Linked DNA regions of Homo sapiens: all the other regions are linked to region 1. Evidence: promoter capture Hi-C in 16 types of primary human blood cells and fetal thymus (Javierre and others, 2016). All regions are on one chromosome and are shown on one strand. The core of a region is centred on a gene start or on the middle of the fragment in contact, and the rest is flanking DNA. Distances in the headings are between cores, read along the strand shown. Region 1 holds the start of F5 (coagulation factor V). Region 2 has its middle 23 kb from the start of METTL18. Region 3 overlaps BLZF1 (basic leucine zipper nuclear factor 1). Region 4 has its middle 15 kb from the start of SELE. Region 5 overlaps FIRRM (FIGNL1 interacting regulator of recombination and mitosis). Region 6 has its middle 6.4 kb from the start of METTL18. Region 7 overlaps FIRRM (FIGNL1 interacting regulator of recombination and mitosis).

Region 1 (3,664 bases), core at 203-2,702:
AGCCAACAACCAAGTCTGCATTCTACTCATGAGCAGGCAAGATTAGTGTTAGAAGGACTGTTATTTTCCTTGGGGTTTTAGCTTACGGCAGTTCCCAAAGGGTGTGGGTGTGACCTAGATTATCACTTTGAAGTACGATATTTAAAATGATTATTTTTGAGAAGGAGGGATCTCTTCTTATTATAAGACCAAGATGGTATGTAATACCCTCCAAAATAACCCAGTTACAATGAGAGTTTTAAAAAGGTTAATATTATACACTAAAAGATCTCAAAATATTACATTATTTTTTGGCAGATTACTTTGGTTTTGTAATTGTAAAAGAGGAACACATCTTTCATAATGAAGTGTGATGTAAGGAAAAAAAGTGAGTCACACTAGCAGGTTTACCATTTAAAAAATAACTAACTGGAAATATTGAATAGACTGTATGATTTAGTTAATTTCTGAGAAGTCTTATTTTTAACATTTCAATTAGAAAAAATAGTTTGCAACTCAAGGATAGTATTTTATCTGAATTAAACCTCCTCTCAGTTACATATGCCTTTAAGTAGCCAAGGTAAACCATATCCCAGGACATGATGAACAGAGAGAAAAAAAAATGAAGAGTCACATTCAATAGGATAAATAAGTCAAATATGAAGCAGAAAAAAGGTGAAAGTACAAAAACATACAAGAACTGATGATATTTTGAAAGTCATTTATAAGGCAGCAATAAAATTATATGACAAAAAGCACAAGGTGTTCATTTTTAGTTTTAGAAGATGAAGCTATGTAGACAATGGAATAAATAATATGTAACTAGGAGTCTCATAAAAATACTATACAACTAAAAATCTGGAACAGGAGTTTGCAGGAAGGGCTAATGAGGGAGCAAGTGCCTGGTGCCTTTGAATTAACCAATATATAAGCCAACACAAACATACTAACAAAACTGTATTGAAAATAAACTTGAAAAGAAGGTAGCATCTAACCAATCAAATAGGGTGCTTTCTAAACCCTCAGAATGATAAACTACATTGTTGGATGCAAAATTAGCATTTGCCCAGTTTATTTAATTCAGTATACTCTCCTATTAGTTATATTTACTTACCTGAAGTTAAAAAAAAAAAAAGCCATGACATTGCAAAGGGAATGTTCTCTAAAAGAAATAGATTTTCCTCTCTAGAGAAGCCCACCCGGACTCCACACCTGAGTTACCTTGAGTTTGTGGGCTCAGGTCGGTAGCTCCAACTGATGCCCTGAGCAGCCACGTAGAACTGCCTTAGCTGTGCCGCTTCTGTCCCTTGGCTCCCCCAGCCTACCCAGCTGGTGCCCAAGACCACCAGGACCCAGAGGCGTGGGCAGCCTGGGAACATGCTTCCTTTCCTGCTCCCGCTGGCTGCCACCACCCCAGGACCTGGGCAGCGCTTGCCGAGCTGCTAACCACACTCCGGGCTGTCCCAGCTGCAATGAGCTCTAGAGGCTGTGGGTGGCAGCGTCCTCCTCCCCTGCAGTTCTTGCAAACGGCAGCAGCAGCCTCTGGCTCTCACTCCCTCCGCTTTTTCTGGGGCTTTTCCTGGCAGGGGTTTGGTGAGATCACAGCTCCCAGTGACCAGAGGTATTAGGGAGAGCAACCAAACTAGTGACTGTTTTACTGCAGGTGAAGAAGGGGCAGAGATCAGAGGCTCTAGCAGGCGGGACAATGCCCAGGGATTCATGAGCCGGACAAAGCTGTATCCCTCCATTTCCACCTGCCAACACCACGGAAGCAGTCGTCCGTTACCACTGACCTGAGGCCTGCCTGGGTCCAAGCTCACACTTGGAGAACCTTCTGTGCAGTGCAGTGGCACCCAACCACCTTAAGCAGATGGCTCCCCTTTTAATCTGAGGAAAAGAGTATTGTGCCCTGTTACTGGGCACTGAAACACTATTTTCAAGTGGTGAAGAAGCAGGGAACAAACACATGGACAAGGCCTACTGCTCTGAATCGCCTTCCTGGCCTCTATCAAGGCACAGTTCTGCCTTGATAAGGGCCTGTCGCCAGCTAAGCTGCAGCATAGCAGCGGGCTTGAAGAGCTTGGCTGAAAAAAATCAGTTGTCCAGATTTCAGTTTCACTTACTAGCTGTGTTGTCTTGGGCAAGTTACTGTACCTCTCTGTTCAGTTTTGACATCTGTGAAATAAGGATGACAATAATAATTTTTCCTGATAGGGTATGTTGGGAGGATAAAATGCTACTGTAAACTATAGTTCCAGCACTTAACACACAGAGGCTAGGCGCAGTGGCTCACGCCTGTAATCCCAGTACTTTGGGAGGCCAAGGCGGGTGAATCACCTGAGGTCAGGAGTTCAAGACCAGCCTGGCCAACATGGTGAAACCCTTCTCTACTAAAAATATAAAAAATTAGCCGGGCGTTGTGGTGGACACCTGTAATCCCACCTACTCGAGAGATTGAGGCAAGAGAATTGCTTGAACCTGGAAGGTGGAGTTTGCAGTGAGCTGATATCATGCCATTTTACTCCAGCCTGGGCAACGAGAGCAAAACTCCATCAAAAAAAAAAAAGAAAGAAAGAAAAAGAAAGAAAGAGAAAAAGAGAGAAAGAAGGAATCACAAATTTATTATTATGATCATATTTTCCTGTCTCCAGGACCCCTTGTATTCTTGTTTTTCTTGAAGGATCTGACTGTTTCACAGCACCTTAAATCTTACTTTGCTATTGATAGAGAATCTGCGAATTATATTGTCTGAGGCATCATAATGACTTGTCCTGGGTTCCCTGTATCTGCATGGCTCCAGGTTTCTGTCTTATGCTTTATGCATTCAGTACATTCAATAAATTGTAATCTGGCACCTCACATGAGGTCTCTGTTAATGATATCAGGCTCATCAACAGCCTCTTCCTCCCTCCCCACTCCCCCCAATATTCTGTCTTTTCTCCTGTGCTGATATTATTGCACCAACTTAGAATGCCCATTTTCTTCCTCTTTGCTGGGCCATTCTTTACAGTCCAGAGTTCTGCCTATCTCCCAGATTCTGGGCTCAAATTGGCTTTTCCATTTTATGAACTATTACAACACTATTCAAATTATATAATCATGTTAATTACCTTTTGTTATTCCATGCAGGTATCTATTGTCTCCCTAACTGAACAGTTGCTTACACTTCTTTATCTACAATATTATCAGTGTCTCCCAAAGTTGGCAGACCATCAGAATTCCCAGGGGAACTTTTACAAAATGTAGATTCTGACTCAGGAAACAGGGTTGAGACCAAAGTCCTAGAACACCTAGCCTACTGATTGACATTTAAATAAGCAGTCAGAGATGCTACTGGCAGTGTATCAGAGAAACGTTTTGAAAGCACTGTGTCCCTAAATCCCAAGGTTACTACCAGAATTGTTGCAACATTATTGTAACCTTTGAGTAGGCTGCTTTTTTATTTGCATGTTTGCTTATGTATATACAGTGTACATGACATATTTATTTAATTACATTTTACAGAGACAAGATGACTACTATAATTTTTGGCTCTCTATTTTTTTTAACATCAGTTCCAGATAAATACTATATAACTTTCAATGACCTATTTATTAAACATGGGATTTAAAGAACATGTAAAACACATTTGTTCTTCCCTGTAAAATATTAAGGTGATGAAGAATTTTTCCATTTCTCTGATTTT
Region 2 (3,636 bases), core at 666-3,165, 190 kb after region 1:
ATCTTTCATTTATTCATTCATTGAACAAATATTTTGAGGCTTTCTGTGAAGAACATCATTCTAAGTAGTAAAGATACAGCAGTGAATAGGACACATAAAATCCTAGATCTCACAGAATTGACATTCCAGAGAGGGAAAGGTAGACAATAAATACATAAACAAATCATTTAACAAGATGATTTCAGACAATGGTACGTACTGTGAAAAAAATGAAACAAGGTAATGGACAGCGAAAAGGCACTGGAAGGAAGCCTGCTTACCTTTGCATGGTTAGAAAAGATCTCTCTAAGAAAGAGACCACATGTGAGCTGCGACCTGAAGGATACCGAGAAGCTAGGTGTGCAAAGATGTGGGGACAGAACTTTTGGACTGAATAGCAAATACAAATGCCCTTGGGTGCAAGCTTTGCCTGTTCAAGGACCAAAAAGAAGGCCAGTGTGCCTGCAGCATACTAAGCACAGAGGAAAACACTGTTATATGCTGAGATTGGAATTATAAGTAGAGCCAGATAATATAGTCTCTTATAGGTCATAATAAGGCAACCAGATTTTATTCCAAGAGGATTTAAAAATCACTGGAGGTTTTGCACTAGGGTGAGAGGTGTGATTTGTATTTTTAAAAGATAATTCTGGAGAATTAACTATAATGAGGTAGGAGTAAACTAAGTTAGGGGCTATTTCAGTGGCTCAGACAAGAGATAATGGTAGCTTAGACTAGGATAGTAGTCGTAGAAATAAATAAAAGTGGCACTCTACTTTGGGGGTAGAGTCTATAATAGGTTTGGTTTATGGATCATATATGAGAGTAAAAAAAAGAAAATAAATTAATAATGGTTCCTAGGTTTGTACCTGAGCAACTGAATAAATGGGTGCTGTGAATTGAGATAAAGGAGATTGAGAATCACAGGCTTTGTTTTGCAAATTAATTTTGAGAGGCTTATTAGACATCCCAGTGGAGATTTCAGGTGAGTGGAGCCCATTGAAAGGTAAGGGACAGGGTCAGGTGTGGTAGGTCAGGCCTGTGATCCCAGGACTTTGGAAGGCCAAGGCAGACAGATCAGTTGAGCTCAGGAGTTTGAGACCAGCCTGGGCAACATGGGAAAACCCTGTCTCTACAAAATATGCAAAATATTACCTGGGCATGGTGGCATATGACTGTGGTCCAAGCCACTTGGGGGGCTGAGATGGGAGGATCACTTGAGTACAGGAGGCGGAGGTTGCAGTGAGCCAAGATCTCGCCACTGCAAACCAGCTTAGGTGACAGAGTGAGAACCTGTCTCAATAAATAAATAAGAAACGTAAGGGAAAAGGAAATTAATCTGATCATTGGCAAATGCATAGTATTTAAAGCCAGGGGAGTAGATGAGATACTCAAAGTAGGTGAAGATAAGGAGGCAATGAAGGCCTAGGACTCTGGTGTACATTTAGATGGTTATAAGAGGAATAGAAACTGGCAAAATAAGTAACACTGAGCACCCAATGAGGTGGAGAGGAAAGCCAGGAGATGAAGCATCATAGAAGGCAAGAGAAGAAGGGTGTCAAAGAGGCGAGGCAGTCATCAACTTCTGGGCAGTCAAATAATATAAGGACAGAAAAGTGACCATTGGATTTGGAAATATGATGAGCACTTTGAGTGGAGTGTTGAGACAGAAGACCAATTAGAGTAGATTGAGGAGATAACGAGAAATGAGAAAATGTAACCTGCAAGCACAGACAATTCTTGAGAGACTTTTCTGTGAAAGGAAACAGACACAGAGTCTTAGCATGTCTTGTCTTTCTATGGGAAATGTAAATAGTTTGAGATCAGGGATAGTATTTTATTCTGCTTTTTGTACCTCTACATTACCTAGCATAGAGCTAGCTAATGTGCACTTAAGTATGTTCTCAATTCTTATCGCCTGAATGACTGGATGGGTGAAAGAATGGATGGATGGATGGATGGATGGATGGAAGGATGGATGGATGGATGGAAGACTTCTGATTTGCCAAGAAGAGGATACTGGTAGCAGAAATAAAAACAGCACTGGAGAAAGAAGAGTTTAGATTTTTATTCTTTGGTGTCAGTTAGACAGGAAAGTAAGACATTAGAAGAGTCCTTAGATAATTTATGTAATTGTTCACTTAGGATTTTTAAATGTGATCACTGATATTGGACATGTTCCTAGTGAAGCATTTTTGGTGTTTCACTGGTTGAAGTTAATAACTGTAAAATTATTTCCCGTTCAGGACAGAAAAACAGAAAACTTGAAGCTCCTATTAGAAAGTTCAAGATTCTCTGGGGTTCTTAGGATTTACTGTTCCCAAAACTCTGTCAAGAACAAGAAAATGACCTGTATACTTAACTGGTCTAGGCAACAGTGGAAAGACAATTCTCAGAGAAGATTTGTTTTAAGAAGACACTTTCCATAGGAATCAAACAATAGCTTTCAGTGACTAACATGGTAAGACACAGGGTGTTAGCTCTTTCCTTCCAACCTCATGGCTGTTGTACCTTACCTTTCGACCCCGTGTTCCTGAAATTGTTAAATTCATAAACTTACCAAGGACTAACCAGCCTCTGGGGAATTGCTGTATACTTAGCAAACTTACAATGGACATATTTATAAGCCATAATGATAACTGACTAATAGGAAATACCCTCAACTGAAAATGAGAGATCATCATTTGCAAATGAGTTCCCTTGCCCAGGCAACTACTGGGGAAAATGTCATGCAAGCAAAATTAATCTTTGAAATCCTCCTTTTCCATTTTTTGTGTCTTCCTTTTCCATAGGCACCAGAAATATCATGGTGCCTGGATCTCATCTCTACAGAAAAAAAAAGTGATTTGATAAACTGATTTATATTGTGTCCAAATGTGATTGTATTTTCAAAGATAACCTAAGGGGAGAATGCTGTCTGGCCCAACAGCAGGCTCTCGACTTCATTTCAGACACTGTGGCCAATGGCTGGGAAACAGGTATGAACAGTAGGTTTCTGAGTCCCCTGGAATTATTCCATTTATGTAGCCACCTCCATGACAGGAAGCCTCCCTACTCTTACTTCCCAGTTTGTTCATTCATGGCACCAGGTTGCAGATTAAAATTTGCTCAGTGACCTTTTATCTAATAATGTGTTACCTTCTTCTCTTAAAAAGTACAAGGGACAAATGCTCATGGTATACTTTTAGGAGATTGTGGCTCTCTATTAACAGTATTTATTCAACAAACATTTATTGAGCATTTATATGTGCATCATGCTAGGGACTGGAACCTAGTAAGTGTAGCACATATTATTTCATTTAATCCTCACAACAAACCCATGAGGTTGGTTTTATGATCCCAATTTTTCAGAAGAAGAAACTGATATTCAGAACCAGTTAACTAACTGGTTCAAGGTCATGCAATTTCTAAGATACAGAACCAAGAGTCAAAGACATGATTTTAAACCAAAGCTTTTTCTGCTACTCCACATTGCTTCCCTAGGTGAGATCTGAGGCATTCCGCGAAAAGAGAAGGGTCATAAAGCCAAGGGAAGACAAGCTTAGGAAAAAAAAGGGAAATGTCCTAAATAAACAGCTTTCCTATTTACCAGAAACCACTAGTTTAAAAATATAATGGGAAAAATCCTATTCACTTTAACAATGTTAAAAAAAAAAA
Region 3 (3,748 bases), core at 1,147-3,646, 210 kb before region 1:
TAATAAATATTTAATTGAATTTAATTCAGCTTTGCAACAGCATTTCATAAGTCACCAGAAGGCTTTTATACCATTAGATAAGCAAGTCAGAGACTGTAATGAAAGTAATAAACTGGGGATTAATGGGAAATAAGAGCAGTTAAATAATTAATGTGAAAGCAACCAACATGGTGCTTGTCAAAAAGCAAAAACTAAATACAATATTATGATTAGTCATTAGAAGTACTGGCAAGTTCTCTGTGAAATTAAATTACTTTTTAATATTTATTATTACTTGTTTTTAATGAGGATTAGAGTTATAAGGCACTTTAACAAACATTATTTTGTGTGATCTTAATTATCCAGTAAGGAAAATAATTCTATTAGCCATATTTCTATTTAATCTGTCATCTGATGTTAGTGAACAAAAGTTACTTGTATTGCATGGCCTGTGAAAAGGTGTACTTGGTTGACATTTGTCAGTTGTCTGTGCTTCCTGTAACTGCCTCAGGAGATAAGTACGGTTGTTTGGTATAGCAACAGAACTTCCTCTCAGAAGACATTTGAGCAGCACTGTCATCATAAGAGGGTTGTATCATGGCTGCTAGTGCTGTTTCTGAAAGGGAAACATACAGTAAATAGTAACAATTAGAAACTTAAAATCCAAAGCTTTTCTTGGATGTGGGATTAAAATTGAAAATAAAGCTATTAAAGTCAACTAGTTTAGTAATAGTAGACCAAATAGAAAGGTCTGAGACATTTAAATATTTTTGATTCCATAAAATAGTCTAACACTAGTTCTGTAGAATAATAGGTGTTAGGTAAAAAAGATATTCCATGAGCAGATAAATTTGATAAATGCTGTATTAAAAGAGAGGCTATACTATGGGACCTCTCAGAGTCCTATAGTATAACTTTAATACTAATGTACATTGAAACTCTGTAGAGATGCAGTATGCAACATTGCCCACACTTATTTGACCAGGGATCTCTATCCATAGAGCCTGTGGTAAGAAGAATGCTTAGATTCCACTTCAGTAAATCTCGATGTTACTCTTAAGTCCATTGTATGTAACTTATTTTACTAATTTAATAATAACTAAACTTTATTAGGTGATATGGGTGACATTTAAAAAGACTCTTGATTTAAAATTACCACATGACAATCCCTAATTTGTTTAACTGTATCATAGCTGAATTTGTATATGTTCTGGAAAGTCTTTCAGACTATAACCAAGTTAGGAATTAATGATTTAGGGTAGAGGAAAAAAAATAAAGCAGTTTTTAAATGGGTTAGTTTTTGGATGTTAAAAATGAAACACTCTAGGTAGTGTATTAACAGACTAATGAGCTTCAGTAAGCATTTATTCATTTTCTCTGTGACAAGGACCATTTTATTAGTTCATGACACAAAGATTAGGAGGCGGTCCATACCCTGAAGAGCTCCCAACAGTCTAGTCTACAAGAGAAACAAATTATTTTTAAAATATATACTACCATGTTTGCATTACTCTGAAAGCACCAAGGGATGGGAGGAGGATGAGGTTAAGTGCTTTGTCCAAGGTCACACAATACATGGCAGTAGGGACTTAAGTTATTTTAACTCAGGCTCTAGTGAGTTAGATTTCTTTTCACTACCCCATTCTGCTGACTTAGAGTACCTCTCATCATAGATTGAAGTTTTATGAATAAAAGAGAAATATTTGTTCAATGACAGACAATAAATTTTTTTTTGCCTCAATATTCTAGAGCAAGGGTTGGCAAATTGTGGCCCTCAGCCTCCTGAGAATATCTGCAATCAGTTTGATAATAGTGGACATTAACACTATTTAAGCCAAACATTATCCTGAATTAAAAAAAAATCTGTTCTTCCCATTATTAGACCTATGTTATCAAAAAATTGTTTTCAATTATTGTTGTTATAGTTTGAATTTCATCAATAAATTTTTTTTCTCTTATTAAATACTTACATGGTATCCTCAATTTTACCTTTTGGTTCACAAAGCCTAAAATATTTACTCTCTGGTCCTTTACAGAAAAAGTTTGCCAGCTCCCATCCTAGAATGTTAGACTAGTGACCTTCTTTGTTCTTTCCCTACATTTCACCAATCCTGGTAGGCAATACGAATGAGCAAACCTTAGATATGTTTTAATTCATTGATAATTGATCACAGGTGGAAGTAATGATGATGAATAATTTAAGGATTGTTTTGTTGGTTCCCTTCAAATAGTGGGGAAGAATAAGGATTGGTGTTTTTCTTGACTTAAGCGTTACTCATAATTATGGAGCTGTTACCATAGGTCCTTGTCTTCCCAATTGAGAGAAGGTAATTATTCGTAAATGTGTCCTGGATTGTGCCTACTGCATATGTAATAAAGGTTTCTAGGTATGTCACAAGGAAAAATCGAATTACGAAAGTTACCAGGTGAGAAAATGTTAAGCCCTGGCTCTTACGGCCTGTTTACCTATGCACATTAGCTAGAATCATAGTTATTACTGAGCGGGAGCTCTCACGTAATATATAATACAACTTTGATATTCATAAATGCTTGAGTAAGTAGAACAGTTTAAATAAAGTTAAGAGTAAATTGGGGTGGAAACAAGTTGGTTGAACTTCTTGATTTTCCAACAAGGTATTTTGTTCAAAAAGAGATTTCTGTTAAATACCTATTAATGGTTCTTTGCCTTTTAAATTTAACTTTAATCATTTTGTAATTTGTTCTTGAATCTCTGTTACTTAAAATTCCAACTCAAAAATGTTACAGCTTGCCTAGAAATTTTATTTGACCATAATGGAAGTATCACACCTGTTTTTTATTTCCTCAGCCTCAGTGGGCCTGAACCATGGCTGTAGTGCGTGTTTTTATTGTTGATGGTTTTTATTAATTTATAGTTAATACATGATTCTGTGTTACTTCTTAAATGCCAGAATGTCTTATTGACAAGATTAGACAAGTTAGTTAAGTTTAGACAAACTTAAAATCAGATTTTAAGAATACAGGTAGCTGGGTGTGATGGCTCACATCTGTAATCCAAGCACTTTGGGAGGCTGAGGCCAGAGAATTGCTTGAGCCTAGGATTTCAAGACCATTCTGGACAACATGATGAAACCCTGTCTCTACAAAAAAAAAAAAAAATACAAAAAAAATACAAAAAATTATTTGGTCATGGTGGCACATGCCTGTAGTCCCATCTACTTGGGAGGCTGAGGTGGGAGGATCACCTGAGCCCAGGAAGTCAAGGCTGCAGTAAGCTGTTTTTAAATGATTCAGTGGAAGTTCTCCTTGTCAGTGCTACCATGCTTTGTTTTAACTAATTTACCAAACCCAGCATGTTAGGCCTTTATTTCACTTTCTGAAGTATTCCTTTGTTTATCTTTTTAAAAGTAGAGTCAATCCCAAGGCCCAAGGGGTGTTTAAACTTAGTTTACATTTCATATGGAAATGACACGATTTTATTCTAATGTAAAATGTTTTGTAAAATAGAACACATTAATTATACCTCAGCTATGTTTCCACCTCCTGTCTAATTAACATAACTCGAGGTTCCCAGAACATTTCTACATGGGAAAAATTTGAAAAAAGTAAATCTGTTACTTGAATAAATAGTCCTATAGTCTAGCAATATAACTTTAAGATTTACATAACAGAATGAAAGTCAGAATTGTATTTTATGGCATTAAATAAATTAACTTTATTTCTGTCTATATCAACATCCAAAGTTTATTAGGAATTTATTTAAAGAATAATAAAAGCAATAGGACCTAAC
Region 4 (3,503 bases), core at 487-2,986, 160 kb after region 1:
TGACCCTTCCTGTCATAAATGATTTTTTTTTTCTCTGTAGCCTGCAATGCTCTTTGATAGCATTTTACCCACAGTAGAATTTTCAAAATTGGAGTCAATCCTTTCAAACTCTGGTGCTGTTTTATCAACTAAGTTTATGGAGTATTAGAAATCCCTTGTTGTCATTTCAACAATGTTCACACCATCTTCCCCAGGAGTATATTCTACCTCAAGAAACCACTTTCTTTGCTCATCTATAAGAAGCAGCTCCTCATCCACTAAAGTTTTATCCTGAGATTGCAACAATTCAGTTACATCTTCAGGCTCTACTTCTAATTCTAGTTCTCTTGCTGTTTCTATCTCATTTGTGCTTACTTTCTCCGCTGAAGTCTTGAACCCCTTAAAGTCACTCATGAGGGTTGGAATCAACTTCTTACAAACTCCTGTTGATGTTGATATTTTGACCTGCTCCCATGATTCATGGGTATTCTTAATGGCATCTAGAATGGTGAACGTTTTCAGAAGGTTTTCAGTTGGCTTTGCCCGGATCCATCAGACGAATCCCTATCTATGGAAGCTATAGATTTATAAAATGTATTTCTTTTTTTGTGGGGGCATAGCGTCTCACCCTGTCACCCAACCTGGAATGCAGTGGCACAGTCATAACTCACTGAAGACTCAAACTCCTGGGCTCAAGTGATTCTTCCACCTTGGCCTCCCAAAACACTGGATTACAAGCTTGAGCCACTGTGTCTAGCCCAAAATGTATATCATAACTAATGAGGCTTGAAAGTCAAAGTGACTCCTTGATCCATGGGCTACAGAATGGACGCTGGGTTACCAGACATGAAAACAATACTCATCTCCTCATACATCTCCTTCAGAGCTCCTGGGTGAGCAGGCCCATTGTCAAATGAGCAGTAGTATCTTGAAAGAAATTTTTTTTCTGAGCAGTAGATCTCCACAGTGGACTTAAAATAGTCAGTAAACTATGCTGTAAACAGAAGTGCTGTCATCCAAGCTCTGTTTTTCCACTGATAGGGCAAAAGCAGAGTAGATTTGGCATAATTCTCTAGGGCCTTAGGATTTTTGGAATGGCAAATTGAGCATTGGCTTCAACTTTTTTTTTTTTTTTTTTTTTTGAGACAGAGTCTTGGTCTGTCACCCAGGCTGGAGTGCAGTGGTGCAATCTCGGCCCACTGCAAGCTCTGCCTCCTAGGTTCACACCATTCTCCTGCCTCTGCCTCCTGAGTAGCTGGGACTACAGGCACCCGCCACCATGCCCGGCTAATTTTTTGTATTTTAGTACAGACGGGGTTTCGCCATGTTAGCCAGGATGGTCTCGATCTCCTGACCTCGTGATCCACCCGCCTCGGCCTCCCAAAGTGCTGGGATTACAGGCGTGAGCCACAGCGCCCAGCCTGTCTTCAACTTAAAGTCGCCAGCTGTGTTAGCCTCTAATAAGAGAGTCTGCCTGTCCTTTCAAGCTTTGAAGCCAGGCATCATTCTCTTCTCTAGCTATGAAAATCTTAGATAGCATCTTCTCCCAATAGGAAGCCATTTTTTATGCCCTAAAAATCTGTCGTTTGGTGTAGCCACCTTCATCATTGATCTTACCTAGATCCGCTGGATAACTTACCACAGTGTCTACATCATTACTTCTGCTTCACCTTGCACTTTTATGTTATGGGGATGGCTCCTTTCCTCTAACCTCATAAACTAACCTCCACTAGCCTCACATTCTTCTTTTACAGCTTCCTCGCCTCTCTCAGAGTTCACAGAATTGAAGAATGTTGGGCCTTGGATTACACTTTGGTTTAAGGGAATGCTGTGGCTGGTTTGATTTTCTATCCAGAACACTAAAACTTTCTTCATATCAGCAATAAGACTGTTTCACTTTCTTACTATTTTTTGTGATAGCACTTTTCCTTTCCTTCAAGAATTTTTCCTTTCTATTCACAATTTGACCGTTTGATATGAGAGGCCTAGATTTTAGCCAATCTCAGTTTACACCATGCCTTTTTCACTAAGCTTCATCATTTTAGCTTTTTATTTAAAGTAAGATGTGTGACCCTTCCTTTCATTTGAACACTTACATGATGATGCCTGGCTTCAAAGCTTGAAAGGACAGGCAGACTCTCTTATTAGGGGCTAACACAGCTGGCGACTTTTAAGTTGAAGCCAATGCTCAATTTGCCATTAGAAGCCATTGTAGGGTTAATTAATTTGCCTAATTTTAATATTATGGTGTCTCAGGGAATAAGGAGGCCTGAGTAGAGGGAGGGAGATGGGGAAACAGCCAGTCATCAGAGCACACACAACATTTATCAATTAAGTTTATCACCTTGAGGGCACAGGTCATGATACTTCAAAACAATTACAATAATAAAATAAAAAATCATTGATCGCAGATCACCATAACAGATATAATGATAATGAAAAATTTGAAGTATTGTGAGAATTACCAAAACGTGACACACAGACACAAAGTGAGCACATGTCATTGGAAAAGTGGTGCTGATAGACTTACTTCATGCAGGGTTGCCACAAATACTCAATCTGTAAAAAATTCAATTATCTACATAGTACCATAAAAACAAGGTATACCTGTTTATATAATCAAGACCAACAGAACCCTAGAGAAAATAGCTCACTCCCTAGCTCGGAGACATTCTAACCAACATACACTTACCTTTCTTTTTGCTGTGTACAGAATTCAAATCCCTGTCTCAGCAAAATTGCAAAGTATCAAATGTCATGTCCATCTAATACTCAAAACTGCAAATGTTAAGTCTTGTAAGCCCAGAGACCACTGTATATACAAGTGTTGCTATAAGCATTAGTTCTTCTCCAAAGAAAATAGTCCACTTGGTAGAAACAAACAAAAAGAAAAAAAAAGAAAGAAAAAACATTTTTTACAAGAAGATTCAGTCTCTTACCTACATAAGCAAAAATATGAGATGTTCTCTTATCATTTTTCCATCTATCTTATAATCTTTGGTGCTGACTTAGACACTCATTTTCCTTTTTGTACGTGACCATGTAAAAGTTCAAGTCAAGAAAAACTTGTTTTGACATTTGTTTTGCTGAGTGATGGGTCCCTAAAAGAAATTTGGCTTTGCTTTTGAAAAGTTCAGCATGATATTGTGTGAATTTTTCATGGCTAATGATTTTTAGAACAGTTGTGATGTGTTTAGGTGTTTTAAGAATATGAAGCATTCAGTGGTTTAAGTTGGTTGTTATAAAATGAAAGAATATGAAGGAAAGCCTTCTTGTCTTAGAACACACTGATTCACAAATAAGCAGCTTCTCTCAAAATGTTGTAATTACAAAAATTCCAAGGCAAATATAATAAACTCCTTGTCGGTGCTATGTCTAGAAACTTAACAGCCCCAAAGAAAGTCCTGACAAGGCAAAAAATATATATATATATACAAATTGTGGAAGCAGGGTGTTGAAAGAAGAATAAAGACTATATAAGGACAAACTGTTTAAAAGGGAGGGTATCCTTGAAAGCTTGACAC
Region 5 (3,762 bases), core at 631-3,130, 220 kb after region 1:
GAGGCAGAAGTACTTGAGAAAGCCATGTGCATCATCCAGCAGGTTCACCCTATCTCAGATACCTGATGCCAGTGGTTTCAGGGTTTCTAAGAGTAGCAAAAGTGTGAGCAGGTCGCTGTGTGCTAGCACTTTTCAAGTTTCTGCTTGCCTTAATTTTATTATTGTCCCCCGGGCCACAGCAGGTCATAGCGTTTAGCCCAGAGTCATTGTAGAAAAGTGTGGATTCACAAAGGGCAGTCATTGTGGCCATTTTTATAAATAATCTACCACAGACTGAGTAAAAGCCTTGCATGAATACCATGGATATTAATTTGAATTCTTCCTTTTTAGATTTTCTTTCCTTAGCAATTTGTTTTGTCATTTTGGATTAGAATTATATCTGTAGAATATTTCAGTTATAATAGGGTACAACTTTTATTCCACTGAACATCTTTAGTTTTATTTAGGTCATCTGGTAGGTATAAACTTCAGAAGTTAATATTCAATATTTATAAAAACCATTAACAAGTGTGACACTTAAATAGTTTAAATAATTCTTTTGACACAACTGTTTCCAAGTTGTGTTACGTATTTTAATTCAATCAAATGTTGAAATTGTTCAGTAGATAGTTTTAATTATAGGAGAAACTCACCCCCATGACATTTGGATGTCTTAAAAGTTCTGTTATCTTTCTTTGCAGTTATTCATTCTTTATTGGATATCTGCTCTGTTATTTCCAGTATGGACCATGCATTTCATGCCAATACTTGGAAGTTTATAATTAAGTAAGTTTGTTTGTTATTTTTTACTTTTTAGAAAATGTTTTCCATATTCCCCAATCTTAATTATTCATGATTCTTTAGATTGCATTTAAAACATTTTGTGTGAATTTAATGTTCACTGACACTGCTGTCTGATAATCCAGATATTCTACATGTAGCTCTCAAGCCAAATTGGACTTCTTTACCCTGTGGCCTCTAAAATTAAAAAAAATGTTCTTCCTAGTTAGCTAGTACTTCAGAAATAATGGGCCATGGGCCAGACTAGAACTTAACCACTTTTCTTCTGCTACTGTTGTTTAACCAGCTATCAAGTATCCTATTTCTAGGATTAGATAAATTGATAACTATAATTAAAACTGAATATAATCTTTTCATTAGGTACTTTTAAGTTGTTCACACTTAATTCCATTTGTACAGTAATTTTAACTTTCTGAAACTGAAGCATTTTAAAGGGTCACCAGGGATAGTGCCTGTAGCATTCATCAGATTCTTAGGGGTGAGAGGAGATGTGGTTGAGATGTAAAAATGGTTAAGAATATCTACTTTATACACATACATAAAACATTAAAGGTCAGTGTATTTTCAGGTCTTAGGTACTTTTCTTGTACTACCAGGACATTAAGTTGCCATTCAGTGGTTAAGAGTGTTGCCTGGGAGCTGTATCACATGTGCTTAAATCCATTCTTGAAATCATTTACTCCTTCTGAGCCCTTGGGCTATTTGGTTAATTTCTCTGAACGTTAGTTTGCTCATCTGAAAATGGAAATAATAATAGCAACTTCTTGACAGGGTTATAGTGAGAATTGAGTTCATCACTGTGAAATGCTTAGAAATGTGCATGACACATAGTTAATACTCAAGGAATTAGCCACATCACTATCATCATCACTGATTATCTTCCACTCTTACCCTCTTCCAGTTCATTTTCTGCCCAGCAGAATGATCTTTTAAAAAGTAAATCAGATCATGTTACTCTATTGCTTGAAGTCTATCCCATTTGATTAAGAATAACAACCTAATCCTCTGTGGATGCTGCCTCCTTCACCAGCCTGTCTCATGCTGCTCTCCCTACTCTTAGTTCCTCAAACATACCAAACTCTCCTGTCCCAGAGTCTTTTCGTGGTTTTTCCATCTGCCTAGGATGCTTCTCTCTCCTATTTTGTGTACCTTGCTAACTCCTGCTTACTGTCTTTCAGTTCTCAGCTTAAGAGTTATATCTTCATGATAACATTCTTTGATATCCTTACCCTAAGATTAAGTTAGATTGATATCCTTACCCTAAGAATAAGTTAGATTAGGTCTCTCTATTGTAGCACCTTAGACTCTGTCATTTGACAAATCACAGCCCTAATTAATTATTCTTAAAATTATTTAACATTCTCTCTCATGCTAGACCACAAGTTTCATGCAGGTAAGGCGGAGATTGTGTCCATTTGTTTGACCCCTTTGTCTCCAGGGCCTGGTAGAATGCCTCATACATAGTAAGAATTCAATTAATATTTTACACAGAGAAAAAATTAGCAACTTATTTAAACAAATATAACTGCTTCAGAGGTAAACTGGGCACATCTTAGTTATATTATGTGATATATGATGCTTTTTGATTGTTTTTTTAAATGTTCTACAAGGTAGATATTGTTAGAGGTCCTAAGTTACTTGATGTGTTACTTGTGGTGATTGTATTCTTTTCTTTTTATTCATTTAGGCAGAGCCTTAAGCACCAGTCCATAATAAAAAGCCAGTTGAAACACAAAGATATAATTACTAGCTTGTGTGAAGACATTCTTTTCTCCTTCCATTCTTGTTTACAGTTAGCTGAGCAGATGACACAGTCAGATGCACAGGTAAAATTTGGGCTAATAGCATTTTAAACAGCAACTCTTATTTTCTTTGGCAGTTAGTAAATCTCATTTGAATGTCTGGGTCAGTCTATTTAAGAGGATTTTAATTTATTTCATTTGGGTGTTTTTTTTTGATCTGTGGGATTATTTATATCCCATAATTACTTTTCACCCAGAGCATTGTATTAGATTCCTAACTGCTGTCATTGCCTCTGGGGTCTGCCTGGCTCCCTCTTTGCTTGGTAACTGGTTGGTCACAGCATTCTTCTCAGAATCCTTTCATTCTTTTCTGCATGAGAACAAAAATTCTTTTGTTCATATTTGTATAAGATCTGATATAGCTGCAATCAATCTTGCATTTTTTCTTCACCAACGCATTGCGACCTTTAGGGATACAAGTATGTTTGTGCATGTATATGTATGTATCAGTCTTTTAAATTTGATATAGTCATACATTTGTTTTTATTTTGAAAAGTTAGAGTGTTGAATTGGTATCCCATTTATGAAACATTATATTCTAAAAATTTGTAGTACGATTATTGGGAATTATAACTCATTTTCCTGTAACACTGTTATACATAGTACCTTTTGCTTTCAGACTAGCCCTCAATTTTATTTAACTATAGTAGTCCTAAATTATAAGATTAATAGTACTCAGGACCTAACAGTTATATGTCATTTGTTTTTTTTTTTTTTGAGATGGCGTCTCACTCTGTCACCCAAGCTGGAGTGCAGTGGTATGACCTTGGCTCACTGCAGCCTCTGCCTCACGGGTTCAAGGGATCGTTCTGCCTTAGCCTCCTGAGTAGCTGGGATTATAGGCGCCTGCCACCACGCCTGGCTAATTTTTTTAGTAGAGACGGGGTTTCGCCATGTTGGCCAGGCTGGTCTCGAACTCCTGACCTCAGGTGGTCCACCCGCCTTGGCCTCCCAAAGTGCTGGGATTACAGGTGTGAGCCACCGCGCCCAGCCTATATGTAATAATTTTAATGGGACCATGAATTGAATATTTCTTCCTTGAATAGCAATGACATAGCCCCTTCTATTGTACATCTGCAAGCTGATACAGGGAATTCCTTTGTACCTGCGCTCTTCCCTGCCAGTCAGCTATGGGGGTGAAAGTGTAGGGGTTCATCCAAGTCCTAAAACTGGTAGCAAC
Region 6 (3,762 bases), core at 181-2,680, 200 kb after region 1:
ATGCCCACACACTGAATACTTTTTTCATGCAATTTAAAATAAGCGCACCATCTAGTTTACAGAAATTCACTAGAAGTTATTTATCCTAAAATAGCAGAGATCTAGAAGAATTTTGAGCTCTAGGACATTTTAGACACACAGAAAGAAGAATCTGGACAAGTCTTGACCAGACATGACAGAATAGAAATTTCTTTTCCTATTTATCTCTTTGAATAAAATTTTCAGGATCTTACAGTGGACAAGTTTGTTATCTACACATTGTGAAGCACATTGATTTCTCCTCTGTAGCCTTAGGAAGATCTGAGAGGTGACTGAGCTGATTGAATGATCCGTGACCGCTCTACTGGGACCAGTAGTAGAACTTTACTGGTGGAGACCTGCTGGAGGTTTGAGAGCAGACTTTGAAAATTACTAGAGCTACACAGATACTGTGTGGCTAACTGGATTATGTTTAGAGGCTTTCAGAACTATGCTGCTGCTGCTGCAGTGTAGCCAGGACGCACAGAGAACATCTAAGGCTCTTGAATGGGGCGATAGGGACAGATTTCAGCAGCCATCTGACTTCAGTGCTCATTTTGATGCTTTCCCTGCAGGGTGCAGTGTGCAGTGTGCAGTGTGCAGTGGTGGGAGGCTCACACAGGAATACTTGCTTCTGTAGCCCTAATTTCCGGTTCAAACTCTGCATTCACCTTGACAGATTCTTTCCTTGGCCAAAATTTAGTTAGGCTTCTGGGCTTTCTCTTATGCCCACCTGCAGACTTTTTGGTAAAATCCAGTTTTAGTAAAGAGCTCTGCTAAGTCAGTTTAGCAAGAATCCCCACCTCAAAAGTCACTATCTCCCTCCCTGGTAGTGTCTGGCTTGTCTTCAGCGAGAATTCTATTAGGTTCTGTTAGATTAGAATCCTCCTTACCCTTGATGCTTCCTCTTAGTATTTTTTCATCCACTGACTCCTTGACCCACCTTGCTCCTCGGCTATAAATTCCCACTTGCCCATACTCTGCAGTTAAGACTATTTTCTCCCCACTACTGCAAAATCCCATTGCCATGGTCCCTATACTATCTCAATGGTAATGAATAAAGTCTGCCTTACCATGCTTTAACAAGTAACATTGAACCATTTTTTTCTTTAACAATCTGCTGCACAATGAGATTACTAAAACTTTATTCCATTTTGCCATGCTGGATGTCCTCAATGGAATGGCTCTTGTGAGCACCAAATCATTGTGAGAAGGAAAACCCATCTCTTACAGCCCCCTGTAACGTGATGTATGTTACATGTGATGTATGTTACATAGTTTTTTTTCATGTTGATCACTTTTTGCCCATTTTCCTATATCTTATCAGTTGGAAGACTGTGGAAGTTTGTAGTACTAAGCCACAAGATGACTAAGAAGAGTTGAAAGGGCAAGTGGGGCTAAAAACAGATTTTGTTTGACTTACCCCACCATTCCCCCTATCATGGGGCTGAATCTGCCTGGAGGAAGGAGCATCTTTATCTTTGTACTGTGAACCACACAGTCTAGCAGCAGCACAGCCAAGGCACTTGGGGTTTCATGAGACTAAGTACATGCAATTCTATTGTAAAGGCTTAAAATATATACAACTGACCCTTGAACAACATGAATTTGAATTGCATGGTCAGTTATACGCAGATTTTCTTCCACCTCTGCCACCCCTGAGACAGTAAGATCAATCAATCCTCTTCCTCCTACTCCTCAGTCTACTCAAAGATACTTGAAGTCTACTTGAAGATGACAAGCACAAAGACATTTATGATGATCCACTTCCACTTAGTGAATAGTAAATATGTTTTCTCTTCCTCCTAATTTTTTAACACTTTCTTCTCTCTAGCTTAATTTATTGTTAAGAATACAATCTATAATACATATGACATACAAAATATGTCTTAGTTGACTGTTTATGTTATCTGTAAGGCTTCAGGTCAAGAGTATGCTATTAGTGGTTAAGTTTTCGAGGAGTCAAAAGGTGTATGTGGACTTTCAACTGCAGGGGGGTGGGCACCCCTGCCCCCATGTTGTTCAAGGGTCAACTTTACTGCCAAAGGCAAGCCTTTACATCCACTTTTTCCATCCCATCAGTAAATGGAAAAAGATAGCTACAGTATCCCTGCGTCAAATCTTTTTTTTTGCAGATCACAAATTGGCCACTCACCTTGCTCTGTGAGGGGTAAAATGCCCCACTTTCTTTAGTAATATTTAAGTTAGATAATATTTAAGTTATAAAGTTGTTCTTTGTAATCGTTAATTGTAATTTTTACATAGTTTCTTTCAAACAGAAATAGCATTTTTGTTAGATAACCTCCCGTATAGATGATGAAACTCCTTTTAAGGGCTATCTGAATTTTAATTCCTTGAAAAGGCAGAAATTGGATAGCTAGTAGTCATAAATGTACTGTGGCTTCCCCCAACCATCTGGGCTATATAGAAGCTGCATCCTTGGACTGCAGTAGAGGAGTCTTACAAAGCACAGAGCAACTTCTCTCCTGGGTTGCGCTAGTTATGATGGCAATTTTAAATGTGTACTTTTACCCAAAGAAAATCCTTATTATCAACAATCACAATGCCATCATAACCATGGTATAAAAAATTCAAAATGTCCCAGCTGAAGTGGAGGCAAAGACTCAAGTTCATGGAGTCAGAGTTTCCTTGCTATTCCTCTTTTTCAAATGACCATTTAGTAAGCACCTGAAGAAAATACTATGGACGGCATTGAAAAGTGAAGATAGGTTTAATCTTCTCGAAAATCTAATTCTCCAGATGAAACGCTGACACTTATCCACCCCACAGACCCTATAGCAGATGTGTCACTGGCCATCACATTTGACACAGAGAAGTCATAACTCAGTCAGCACAGAGACATTTCCATGAGTTTCTGAACCATGGACAGAACGTCGTCTGTGGGACATGAAAACTGGAACTTAGAGGACAGGCACATCTGAGAAATGGGCAGTTTAAAGGCAGAACATAGCACATATGTGACTGGGTTTTAGAAGCAAATTTACAAGACGCACTCTTCTTCATCCTAAATAATCTGCAACCAAAGCTTCCAAAAAAGACAATTTAGGAATGCAGAGGTGAGGAGTAGGGAGGGGAATGGGATGAGAGAGAGTGGAGATTAATGGTGGGCAGAGCGAGGTTTAGAACTTAGTGGTTTCTTCAGGTTCTGAACTGAAATTTGTATACTGTAAAGGCACAAACACCATTTTTAACAAAAGTGAGCAGGACTTCCTATCTGGTTCAGAAAATAGGTGAATAAATAGTACGAATTATTAAAAATAATAATTTCCACTTATACATAGGAAACTTGATAGGAACCATGATAAATGCTTAACTCTTAATCTTCAAGGAACTCTGCTAGGGATATAATATTATAAATCTTGTTTTGCAGATGGAGAAATTGAATTTTAACCCAAGTTATCATAACCCTTAAATGATTAAATGATACTGTTACATGAGAAAGCTGCGTATCTGTTTCCTGGATTTGTAGCCATAATTTGTGTCTCAAGTCCCTTTTGCTGCCAGCTATCTTGGGTAGGTGTGTTCCCTTTGGGCTGTTTGATACCCCCACATTTATCTTTTTTTTTTCTCTTTTTTTGTTGAGAGAGTCTTTCCCTGTTGCCTAGGCTGGAGGGCAATGGCGCGATCTCGGCTCACTGCAACCTCCGCCTCCTGGGTTCAAGTGCTTCTCACGATTCTCTTGTCCCAGCCTCTCTAATAGCTCGGATTACTGGCATGCACCAC
Region 7 (3,481 bases), core at 819-3,318, 240 kb after region 1:
TAATATCTAATTTAGCTATTTAAGTTTCAAGTTCCTTGAGGAACTTTGACTTTGTGTAACTCAGTACCAAGATAAACAGTTGGTAAATGATGCAAAAAATGTCCAGGAAAATTCTCCTTTAAGGAATTTCTTTGACAGTGAATATATTTTCCTTTTATGTGTACATATTCACACGTGTTGGAAACTATTGCTGATTATACCTCTTGAAACATTTTCTGCTTAAACAACCTTCCATGTTACATATTATTATTATAATTGCTAATTAGTAAATGTTATTAATGTTGGGTTCAATGTTCTCAATTTCCCTGCAGGATATCTCTACTCAAAGCCGTTTTCTACAGTTTTGAGCAGTGTTCTGGTGAACTCTCTCTACCTGTTCATTTACAGGGATTAAAGAGTAAGGGGAAAGCTGAGGTGGCTGTCACCTTGTATCAGCATGTTTGTGTTCATCTGTGTACATTTATTACTTCCTTTCATCCCTCACTGTTTGCTGAACTGGTAAGCATATTACTTACTGTGCTAAGCTAAGGTTACACTTTTGCTTTCTCTTCATTGAAATTGTGATTCATATACAGAAGAAAATGTGGGAATACTTAGTATATTCCTTTTGAGTGAAACTTAGTTGTGTCCTAGAAAATGGTAATCCCAGATTCCTGTATTATTTAGATCTAATATTTGGCTAAAATATTTGAGAAAACATTTTGGGTGGGGAGGTATGCAAAGACAATGTGAGAAGAGGAAAAATATGTAGTACTTAAGTAAGTTTCAAAAGAAAAGTAAATAGCTTGTAGTATCAGGTCTCTTATAGATCTCAGACATAATATAGATTTTAAAAAGGATAGAATTTGATTTGAAAAGAGGTTAAGAAATTCTAGGAATTCGATACTTGTAATATCTGAAATTTAAAGATCAGTAGCATTTCAGATATTACACAATATCTAGCACCTATTAAATGTTGTATGTGAATAAAGGCAGAAAGAGGAATATAAGCATATATGTTATTTATGTTGTTTTGAATATTTCAGGCTACTTAGAGAATCTTTGTGGATCCTAGTGACTGAGTTATTACATTTAAAATCATGTTGAACTCTCCATAGCACAGCACAGTACTTAATGTATAGTAGGTGCTCAATAAATATTGAGGGAATGGCAGTGTCCTTTCAGATACTAGAAAGTAGAACTCCCCCATTGAGGATCTGTTATTTGGATTCTGATAGTGCTTTCTTGTTTTATTTTGAGAAATATAATATTATTGCTTATTGTGAACTTTAGTATTTAAATAAATTAATTTTTCTGTTTTTGATTAGGATGCTGCTCTGCTGAATGCTGTACTTAGTGCTAATATGATCACCTCTTTGTTAGCTATGGATGCATGGTGCTTCCTTGCTCGGTACAACATATTTGCTTTTTTGTTCTTTGGATTGGTTATTAGTAGTGACTGACAGTAGATAATTTTATAATTGTAAGCTTATAGAAAAACTGTTTCAATAATCCTTTAAAAATAATTCCCAAAACGCTTTGATTTCATATTACAGCATTAAATTAGGAAACAAGTTCTTTCTTTGGTTCAAGCCAATAGATGAGTACTGTTTAGGGAGTTTTGTATATTGTGATATTATTTGGTCATGGAAATAATGGCAGTTTTTAATGTCCTCATCAGAATATTTAGTGCTTTATGCAAGTTCATCTCCTTATGTTTCTGAGTAATTGTATAAACATAGTTGTCTTCTCTTTTATATTGCAGATATGGGACTGCTGAACTGTGTGCACACCATGTCACCATAGTGGCTCATCTGGTGCGTAGAATTACAAGGCCTAAAACACCCACTTTCTATGCACTTCCTTTGGGGATATGATAATCTTTAAGAATGTGAATATCGGCGGGAGAAATATCACAGTAACAAGATTGTTTTGACAGTCTTTGTCTTGTATTAATGCTGATGCTTTTAAGAAGGATGTACTAAAAAACCGTTAGTGTGAAACTGGGAATGTTTTCTCATATTCTCAGGATTTTATGTAATTTCAGTAATTGTTCTGGGAAGGAAAGACTGGGTTAATTGAAATTACATTTAAAATTGAATGCAAAGTAGAAAATAAGAGCGACTTATAATTGATGGCCAAGAGGTTTCTCTCTTCTGTCTCTCTAATATGCCTTAGACAAGTCGACTCTTGATTTTGTTGTATTTTTTTTTTAAGTCAAGATGATTTGAGAGGAACTTGAGTTTGACATTGATAGATACTTTTGGCAAAAGAAGTCATGTTTTATGAATGGGTACAGACAGAAAATTATTTTATAATGATTTCATCATCTTAACATTAACATTTTTTGCTTTTAAATTCTGAGGTGTTTTATGTGTTCCATATAAGATGATTATGACCTATTTGTTACATATTTTTTTCCCTGGCCTTTAAGATCTTATGTGGGCCATACATCTTTTGTTTTCTAATAGTCTTATTGTATCATATATTTCTTGGTTTACCTTTAAAGGATTTTGTAGATCAGATCCAGTGAGGTGTGTAATAACCTGAACAGCTGACATCTATGTCTCCATGGCTGATGGTCTGGATTATCACTTACACACTTTACTAAATCCTTAACATATCTTTCACAAAGCAGATAAAGAGTGATTTTTATGTTATGTGTTTTATGTCTGAAGTTTCCTTTAAATAAAAGCTTTCTTAGTGCATTATGTTGTAGGAATGGATTTCTTCTAGTTCATTATGATAAAATTGATTCCAGGATGGAATGATACTATATTATGATAGGAATTGATAAAATTGAATTTATAAAATTTTTTTGTTAGTGGTGGTTTTTTTCTTAGAGACAGGGTCTCATTCTGTCACCCAGGCTGGAATGCAGTGGTGTGCAATCATAGTTCACTACAGCCTCAAACTTCTGGGTGCAAATGGTCCTCCTCCCTCACCCTGCTGAGTAGCTGGGACTACAGGCATGCGCCACTATGCCCAGCTGATTTTTAAAACTTTTTGTGGATATGGAGTTCTTGCTGTGTTGCCCAGGCTAGTTTCAAACTCCCGGGCTCAAGCAGTCCTCCCACCTTGGCCTCCCAAAGTGCTGGGATTACAGTTGTGAACCACCACACTCAGCCCCTGTAACATCTTTTAATGAAGCTTCTGTCTTGTAGAGTTTTATCTACCTCTCTACTATTGTAGTTAGATCTTAAAAAGTTCCATGAATTGTCTTTGAGTAGGAGGACTGACATACCCAGTTATCATCAAAATGATAATTAGAAATAGAAATTACAGTGTTAAATATGTCAGAAGTTCAATCTCATTCTAAATTTAGATTCATTGAAGATAAGAAAAGCCCCAAATTAAAAGTCAATATTACCTACAATCTTTTCCCCTAGAAAGAGCTGCTATTAATATTTTGGCATATTCTCTTCTTGTAAAAATTCTGATTCTAAATTAGTCAGTCTCTCCTCTCTCTCTCATGTCTTTTTCCAGATAAAGTCATGCCCTG

Evidence for each region. Contacts are between HindIII fragments. The CHiCAGO score rates a contact against its expected background, and 5 or more counts as called.
Region 2: a fragment that was not itself captured here is called in contact with the fragment with the promoter of F5 in region 1 in 5 of 17 cell types (neutrophils, total B cells, naive CD4 T cells and 2 more); the score reaches 6.8 in neutrophils.
Region 3: a fragment that was not itself captured here is called in contact with the fragment with the promoter of F5 in region 1 in 1 of 17 cell types (neutrophils); the score reaches 6.0 in neutrophils.
Region 4: a fragment that was not itself captured here is called in contact with the fragment with the promoter of F5 in region 1 in 1 of 17 cell types (naive B cells); the score reaches 5.1 in naive B cells.
Region 5: a fragment that was not itself captured here is called in contact with the fragment with the promoter of F5 in region 1 in 14 of 17 cell types (neutrophils, naive B cells, monocytes and 11 more); the score reaches 17.1 in neutrophils.
Region 6: a contact is called between a fragment that was not itself captured here and the fragment with the promoter of F5 in region 1, in 12 of 17 cell types (neutrophils, total CD8 T cells, naive B cells and 9 more). The highest score is 13.9, in neutrophils.
Region 7: a fragment that was not itself captured here is called in contact with the fragment with the promoter of F5 in region 1 in 4 of 17 cell types (neutrophils, naive B cells, total B cells and 1 more); the score reaches 9.2 in neutrophils.

Annotation. Positions count from the first base shown.
Region 1 is chr1:169,585,029-169,588,692 of GRCh38, forward strand. It overlaps F5 (coagulation factor V), which reads right to left and starts at 1,453. Exons shown (of 25, transcript NM_000130.5): 1 at 1,201-1,453. The coding sequence starts at 1,358. RefSeq lists enhancers at 927-1,428, 1,429-1,928. The HindIII fragment of the contact is 11,391 bases long and covers 1-3,664 here.
Region 2 is chr1:169,769,869-169,773,504 of GRCh38, forward strand. No RefSeq gene overlaps it. Among named protein-coding and RNA genes, the nearest start is that of METTL18, 23 kb to the right of the region's middle. The HindIII fragment of the contact is 3,028 bases long and covers 402-3,429 here.
Region 3 is chr1:169,371,101-169,374,848 of GRCh38, forward strand. All of the region lies in intron 2 of BLZF1 (basic leucine zipper nuclear factor 1), which reads left to right. Among named protein-coding and RNA genes, the nearest start is that of BLZF1, 4.8 kb to the left of the region's middle. The HindIII fragment of the contact is 3,501 bases long and covers 647-3,748 here.
Region 4 is chr1:169,747,532-169,751,034 of GRCh38, forward strand. No RefSeq gene overlaps it. Among named protein-coding and RNA genes, the nearest start is that of SELE, 15 kb to the left of the region's middle. The HindIII fragment of the contact is 544 bases long and covers 1,465-2,008 here.
Region 5 is chr1:169,805,324-169,809,085 of GRCh38, forward strand. It overlaps FIRRM (FIGNL1 interacting regulator of recombination and mitosis), which reads left to right. Exons shown (of 25, transcript NM_001320047.2): 8 at 681-765; 9 at 2,468-2,606. Among named protein-coding and RNA genes, the nearest start is that of FIRRM, 12 kb to the left of the region's middle. The HindIII fragment of the contact is 6,965 bases long and covers 1-3,762 here.
Region 6 is chr1:169,786,579-169,790,340 of GRCh38, forward strand. It overlaps a transcript of FIRRM not described here. Among named protein-coding and RNA genes, the nearest start is that of METTL18, 6.4 kb to the right of the region's middle. The HindIII fragment of the contact is 3,263 bases long and covers 1-3,062 here.
Region 7 is chr1:169,828,952-169,832,432 of GRCh38, forward strand. FIRRM (FIGNL1 interacting regulator of recombination and mitosis) reads left to right here. Exons shown (of 25, transcript NM_001320047.2): 14 at 312-498; 15 at 1,308-1,390; 16 at 1,745-1,796; 17 at 3,466-3,481. Among named protein-coding and RNA genes, the nearest start is that of FIRRM, 36 kb to the left of the region's middle. The HindIII fragment of the contact is 1,207 bases long and covers 1,466-2,672 here.